Linked DNA regions of Homo sapiens: region 2 is linked to region 1. Evidence: promoter capture Hi-C in human tissues and cell types (Jung and others, 2019). All regions are on one chromosome and are shown on one strand. Each heading gives the region's core, a stretch centred on a gene start or on the middle of the fragment in contact. The rest is flanking DNA. Distances are from core to core; before and after follow the strand shown.

What was found. The method cuts DNA at HindIII sites, captures the fragments that hold promoters and counts their contacts. A contact is called where the count stands out against the background at its distance.
Region 2: a fragment that was not itself captured here is called in contact with the fragment with the promoter of PCDH10 in region 1 in 1 of the 25 tissues and cell types used here (mesendoderm cells).

What each region holds. Positions count from the first base shown.
Region 1 is chr4:133,147,368-133,151,304 of GRCh38, reverse strand. PCDH10 (protocadherin 10) reads right to left here and starts at 2,011. Exons shown (of 5, transcript NM_032961.3): 1 at 1-2,011. The coding sequence starts at 1,164. PCDH10-DT (PCDH10 divergent transcript) reads left to right here and starts at 2,189. Exons shown (of 9, transcript NR_125885.1): 1 at 2,189-2,276. RefSeq lists a silencer at 1,958-2,097 and an enhancer at 2,208-2,267. The HindIII fragment of the contact is 10,822 bases long and covers 1-3,937 here.
Region 2 is chr4:133,302,014-133,305,916 of GRCh38, reverse strand. No RefSeq gene overlaps it. Among named protein-coding and RNA genes, the nearest start is that of PCDH10, 150 kb to the right of the region's middle. The HindIII fragment of the contact is 8,155 bases long and covers 1-3,903 here.

The DNA.
Region 1 (3,937 bases), core at 762-3,261:
CTCTGAGTCGCGGTCAGTCACGCTGAAAAGGGCCACCACAGTGCCGGGCGCCGCGCCCTCACTCACCGCTTCCTTCACGGTGCTGAAGCTGATCTCTGGCGCGTTGTCATTAGCATCCAGTACTCGCACTAGCACCTTGCAGTGCGCAGGCACGGCGTTGGGGCCCAGGTCCTTGGCTTGCACGTACACTTGGTACACTGGGCTCTCTTCATAGTCCAACTCGCCGCTTACCTCCAGTCTGCCAGTGCGCGGCGAGAGTCCGAAAAGCTCCCGCGCCCGGGGCGAAATGTGGCTGCTGAAGGAGTACACGACCTCACCGTTCTGGCCCTCGTCCGGGTCGGTGGCGTTGAGCTGGATCACGAGAGTGCCTGGGGGAGAGTTCTCTGGTAGGGACACAGTGTAGACGGGTTGGTCGAAAGCGGGCACATTGTCATTGGAGTCCAGCACTCGGATGGTGAGTAGGGCCGTGCCGGTGCGCTGCTGCTGGGGGGGCAGGCCTGCTCCCCCGCCACCTCCCCCTCCTTCTCCTACTCCTCCCCCACCTCCTCCGTCCACCGCGGTCAGCACGTAGCGGTGCACCGCTTGCTGCTCTCGGTCCAGTGGCTTCTCCAGCACCAGCTCAGCGAATCGGTTGCCATCCCCCTGGGTCTGCACGTCCAGGGAGAAGTAGCTGTTGGGGGTGATCTCGTAGTCGCGCAAGGAGTTGGTGCCCACGTCTGGGTCGAATGCGCTCTCCAAGGGGAAGCGAGTGCCTGGCGTGGCGCTCTCAGAGATTTCCACCGTCAGGTCTGGCTCCGGGAAAGAGGGGGGGTTGTCATTAATGTCCAGCACCTCGATCTCCACCTGGAACAGCTCCAGGGGGTTCTCCAGAAAGACCTCCAGGTGCAGGACACAGGAGGGGCTCTGTTTGCAGATTTGTTCGCGGTCTATTTTCTCGTTCACGTACAGCACCCCTGTCTCCAGGTTGAGGTCTAAGTAAGGGGTCCTTGAGTTGGGCACCGTCTGAAACCCGCGAGCCGAAAGTTTTGTAATGTCCAGACCCAGATCTTCAGCGATATTCCCCACGAAAGTGCCATGTTCCTGCTCCTCCTGTACCGTGTAGTGAAGCTGGGAAAAGACTCCTTCCACCATCCAGAGCAAGGCAAACAATAATAGCACAATCATCTCCAAAAGGAAAGGAAGTAGCTTCCCGCAGCCAGTCAGCCACCCAATCACCTCCCCCACCACCACGAAACAAAAAAAAATCTGAAAAAATACAAATAAAAGTGCGCTACGTGGGGGCTCCTGTGGCTTTCTGTCTTTAAAAATCTTACTCCTTTTGCTTCATTTTAGAGCTTCCCGCAATCCAGCCTCATTTTTTTTTAAATCTTAGCACAGGAAGGGTGACAGGCGTCCCCTTTCCTCATCTGTAATCTTTCCACTGACTAATTAATAAAATAACAATAATACAATAGTCAGCGTCCTTTATTCCGACAGTCTTGGCGCTGGCAAATCCCAAAGAGGAAATTTCGATATTTCAAGACTGTCCTCGGTTTGTCTTCTTGCTGATGGGAGGAGAACGAGGAGGAGGAAAAAGAGGAGGAGGAGGAGGAAGAAGAAGAAGAGGAAGAGGAGAAGGAAAAGGAGATGCTGTTGGCACCGTTAAACATGCCTCTTAATGTCAACGGCTGGCAAATGCAAAAGGGCTTAAAATCAGCGATATAATTTTGTGCCGGAAAAGCACAGAACGGCTCTGCAGCTTAAAACTTTCATTCTCTTCATTTCTCCGGATGGATGTTCTTCTTGACATTTTTTTCCTCTTTCGCTCTATTTGTATTTTTTGTCTTTCAGAGTCTTGGTTCCCTCTGTCCTCATCTCCACCGTTACTTGCCTCTCTGTAAGTGTAATGAGCAGTTTCTTTTCTGCTGTTTTCTTCCCAAGCCTCTTTCCCTCTAACCTGTCTCTTTTTCCTTCCAGTCCTTCCTTCCTCCTGCTTCAGCCTCTGAGCCTGTGGTCTGGGCTGGCAGTTTCTGAGCTCCGAGCGCTCGGCTTCTCCGTTTTTGCGCAGCGCCCTCATTCTGCCAACCAATCGCCCAGGAGCACCACCCACCGAGCTGCCGATGATTGGCCAAACTGGCCGCCAAACAGACACGTCACGCGGCAGCCGGGCGGGGCGGGACAGAACTCTCGCCCGAGCGGCCGGGGTGAGTGTGAGTGTGAGAGCGAGAACAGCCCCGCAGGTCCCGAGGCGCTGGCTGGGGACAATGCCGCGGAAAGTTCCCAGTCCCCAGCCGCAGGTAATGGGGAGGGAATAGAGAGGTTCCCCTGTTTGCATCAGCAAATGCGAAAACATAATAGCAACAGCTGCGATATCCTCTCCTAGGAGCGGGATTTCCAATGATGCTAACATTCTTTTTCCTTTAAGGTATTTTCCCTAATACGCATCATGGAAATAAATCATCGAGAAGGGAAAAAGTAGCGCAGGGCCCACTAATTGGCAAGGGTTACCTAATTAAGGGACCCTAGCAGAGACTGGCAGGGCATTTTAAAAGTGAGTATTATATGGCATGTGTCAATCTAAAGGTGAGGGGGTCTGACGGGGCCGTGAGGAAAGGCGCGAAGCATACGGAGTAGGGGGTGGAGGTGACTCCTAAAAAGCGGAGGAATTCACGCTAAAGGATGTGGGGATGACAGCGCTTACAGACGGGCAGACGCGTTCGACGTGCTTCTTTCCTCCCAAAATACATATTCACAAAATACTTACCAAGTAGATTAACTCACTCGAGGACCTAGCTTCGAGCCGTGAGCGCGTTCATCAGTGACTGAGGAGTTGATTTGAGCCGCTTCCTACAAGCCCGCCATCCTAACGCCGGGCTCTGGGGCATCCGGCACACAGCACCGCCAAGCGCTGCAAAGCGCCTCTGATATCCCTGCGCCTTGTGCGGCCAAGTGCCACGCAGCGGCTGGGAACACCGGCTATTTTCTATTTTTTTTTTGGCAATTGGAGATCGATCCCTTTACCCACCATGCTAGATTAGACCACTGATTTCTGCCAATCCTGGGGTCAGCCCGCGGGATGAGGACAGTGGGGCGGCGGCGAACGCGGGCGGGGTGGTGGGCAGGGCCCGTGCACACGAGGGGCCCGAGTGTGCACCGCTGCGGGTATCTGCGAACACGTTTGCACATGCACGGTACTTGCATCCATCCTCCCTGGCCCAGGGCTTAGCTCTGTGTAAGCCCCAACGGAGCCTCCCCGAGTTCCGAAGGACGCGCTTGACCAGCTGTGAGTGCCCCTTCCGGAGGCGCAGGGGCAACGCGGCACATCCACATAGCTAGTTCTTGTGAAGTTAAAACACAGCGCGAACTCTTTAATGCTGGAGAGTGGATAGAATGCCAGTTCTCTAAGGAAAGATCTATAAATATATATTTTTAATTAATGGGCCACTAGCAAGGAATTGGTTGTTTATTCACGAAAGAAGCCCCTATTCAATCTCCTTTTTATGCAAAGAGATAGGAAGGTCCTTTGCTGCTTTCTGGTAATGAATGACCCAAGAATACACCACCACAACCTGCGGGAAAAGTAGAGTCGTTTTCCGACCTGGAGATACGTTGCCATTTCCTCCTGGCAAGGAGTTAAGGAGGGCTAGTGTCCATGGGCGTGATAGTAGCCTGAGACGTGCTTCTGAGAGTCCCGCGAATGCACGTCTACTGCCCTGATTTCCGCGCCCCAACTCCCCGCAACGCCGGGTCCCCCCGGCCCCCGCACTTGGCTCTTTCATGAAGATGGGTCCTGCCTTTGAGCGCTTAGAAGGAAAGGATTCCAGCAAAAATGGCTAATCCTTTTCCAGCTGCAGTAAATTGAAGACTGGCCAAAGCCAAGCGAAAACCGCTGCAGTTAAAATGATTTTAGCATCACGTCTGCGGCTGAGAATGGAGCGGCAGTGTATAAAGGGACCTG
Region 2 (3,903 bases), core at 1,220-3,719, 150 kb before region 1:
TCAAAACTGTATGGGACTGGCGTAAAAACAGACATAAAGACAAATGGAACAAAATAGAAAGCACAGAAATAAACTCACCCATATGTGGCCAGCTAATATTCAAGTCTTAAAGAATACACACTGAAAAAAATAGTCACTTTATTATATGGTTTTGGGAAAATTGGATATTAACAAGTAAAAGAATAAAATTGGATATTTATTTTACACCATACATAAAAATCAACACGAAGTGGATTCAAGACTTCAGCAAAAAAACCCAACTATAAATTCTTACAATATTGTAAGTTACATTTTCATTTTCTTACAACATATTACAATATCAACTTGCAATATGAGAGAAAATATCTGTAAACCACACATATCTGTTAAGGGGTTATTATCCAAAATATATAAGTAACTCATTCAACTCAGTGAGAAAAACTGATTTAAAAATGGGCAAAGGACTTTAATAGATATATTTTTAAAATCCTTACAAATGTCCAACAGGTATATAAAAAAGGTACTAGGGCCGGGCACAGTGGCTCACGCCTGTAATCCCAGCACTTTGTGAAGCTGAGGCAGGTGGATCACCTGAGGTCAAGAGTTCGAGACCAGCCTGGCCAACATGGAGAAACCCCGTCTCTACTAAAAATGCAAAAATTAGCCAGGCATGGTGGCATGCACCTGTAATCCCAGCTACTTGGGAGGCTGAGGCATAAAAATTGCTTGAACCCAGAAGGTGGGGGTTGCAGTGAGCCAAGATCGCACTGCTATACTCCAGCCTATGCAATGGAGTGAGACTCCGTCTCAAAAAATAATAATAATAAAATGCTAAACATCACTAATCATCAGGTAAATGCAAATCAAATCAAAAAGAGATATCCCTTATTTGTGTTAGAATACTATATTTGTCAGCGTTCTCTAAAGGGATAGGACTAATAGGATATATGTATACATGAAGAGGAGTTTATTGGGAGAATTGACTCACAAGAACACAAGGTGAAGTCCCAAGATATGTCATCTGCAAGCTGAGGAGTGAGGAAGCCAGTCCAAGTCCCAAAAGCTCAAAAGTGTGGAAACAAATAGTGCAGCCTTCAGTCTGTGGCTGAAAGCCCCAGAGCCCCTGTCAGATCACTGGTGTAAGTCCAAGAGTCCAAGAGATGAAGAACTTGGAGTCTGATGTTCGAGGGCAGGAAGCATTCATCAAGGGAGACAAACAGAGGTCAGAAGACTCAGCTAGTCTGCCCTTTCCGATTTCTTCAGCCTGCTTTATTCTAGCTGCACTGGCAGCTGATAAGATGGTGCCCACCCAGATTGAAAGTGGGTCTGCCTCTCCTGGTCCACAGACTCAAATGTTAATCTCGTTTGGCAACACTCTCACAGACACACCCAGGAACAATACTTTGCATTCTTCAATCCAATCAAGTTGAAACTCAATATTAACCACCACAGCTAGCTATTATAAAAAAATCCAAAAGATAACACGTGTTGGAAAGGATATGGGGAAAAGGTGATCTTTATAGATTGTTTATGGGAATATATATTAATACGGCCATTATGAAAAGTAGTATGGAACTTTCTAAAAAATAAATAATAGAACGGTAATACCATGTGAGCAAGGAACCTCACTTCTGGGTATATATTAGAAGAAAATAAAATCACTATCTTGAAGAGACATTTGCACTCTCATGTTATAATGACATTACACACAATAGCCAAGATATGAAAATAAACTAAGTGTTCATTGATGGATGAATGAATAAAGAAATATATATGAATATGTGGATGAATAATATTCCATTATATTTGTGACCTGTATACCATCATATATATGATTCCATATGAATATCATATATGATCCATATCATATATGATCCATATGAATCATATCATATATATGATGGAATACAGGTCACATATAATGGCATATAATATATACCATTATATAATATTGCATATATATGAGATGAAATACGGGTCACATATATAATGGAATATTACATAATGGTATATATTATATATCATTATATGCCATATATAATATATATAATGGTATATATTATATAATGGTATATATATACACACACACACATATATATATGATCTATCAAGGAATGCTATTCAACCTTAAAAAGAAGCAGATGCTGTTATTTGTAACAACAAAGAAGAATCGGGACAATTTATACTAAGTGAAATAAACGAGACACAGAAAGACAAATACTGCATGATCTCATATGTGGAACCTAAAATAGTTTAACTCATAGATGCAAAGAGTAGAAGGATAACTTACCAGGGGCTGTGGGATGTGGTAGGGTGGGTAAGAGGGAAATGAGGAAGTGTTGGTCAAAAGATACAAACTTGCAGTTATAAATTGAATAAATTCTGGAGATCTGATGGCTAGGGTTAATAATAATGTGAAGTATACAGTTGCCCCTCCATATCCATAGGTTCCACATTTACAGATTCAACCAACTGCGGATCCAAAACATTTGAAAGAAGAATAAAAATAACAATGCAACAAAAATTAATACAAATAAAAAATACAATGTAATAATTATAATATTTACATAGCATTTACATTTCATTAGGTATTATAAGTATTCTAGAGATGTTTAAAGTATACAAGCGGCTGTGTGTATGTAATATGCAAATACTACACCATTTTATATAAGGGTATCGAACATCTGTGCATTTTGGTATCTGTCAAGGGTCCTGGAACCAATCCCAGTGTTCAATACAGAGGGAAGATTGTATTTGAAATTTGCTAAGAGAATAAATCTTATATATTGTCACCACACATGTATACACAAAAAGTTAACTATGTGTGGTGATGGGTATGTTAATTACCCTATTGTTCTAATTATTTAACATTGTATATGTATATCAAAACACCACATTGTACATCTTCTATATATATATGTATGTATATATATATGACTTTTATTTTCCAATTATACTTTAATAGAGCTGGAAAAAAATCTATATCACTTTCCCATTGTCAGATGAATATCTATTACTTCATCTTTTTCTATTTAAACATTCTATTTTCAAAGATAAAATCAAAAGCAGAGCTGCGTGGAAGCACTCTCTGTGCCAAGTTGCTTTGGGGTTATAGCTGGACATCTTCCTAGCTAATGGCCATCTAGAAAGCCCTAAGGAAAGTTTCAGAAATACATAAGGAAATGTATTGTGGTGGAGAGGACTAAAAAGAATAGAGAGAGATGATATAAAATATTTCCTAGCAATTTATTACTTGAAGTTATATTTAATCAGTGACATTATGTTATACATACACTAAAGGTATTTGTTAAAACATTAAATGCACATATGTATTCTCAAATTTCTACTTAAATGTGGAGATATAAAAATAATGCTTTGATACATGACCTCTTTTTAATATTTGCTAAAAACTCTTTGCAAGAAGTATCAGGTGTGTAGATCAGAGAAGTGATAATTAGCAAGGTTTCTACTCTACTTAATCTTACACTTCAGCTGCATAAAATGAGGTGTTAGCTTTCTAAATTTATCCAAATGAACATCAGACTAAGCTATAAAATGCAGAAAGAAAACGCCATGAGAAAGTTGGTGAATTACGTCAAATTTCACTGCTGAAATACACATAAAGATTATATGCTATTTCAATTTTATTTTATTAATCTCTTTCATTTAATGGTTAGTTTGGAAGGAGGAGCATCTGGATGTAATGAATTTACATGTATTGATTTCTCTTCTTCCAAATATATTGTTCATATAACACAAAATGAATCATTTTTTATTTCTTGGAAAGAGTGCTGCTGAATATGCAAACAATGACACATCTTTGAAGTAATAGATTACAGGAGATTACTGAATTTTAAAAGCAAGGCTAATATAGACCCTATGCTATGTACAACAAAGGGCCAAAGATGATTGAGTCAATTTCAT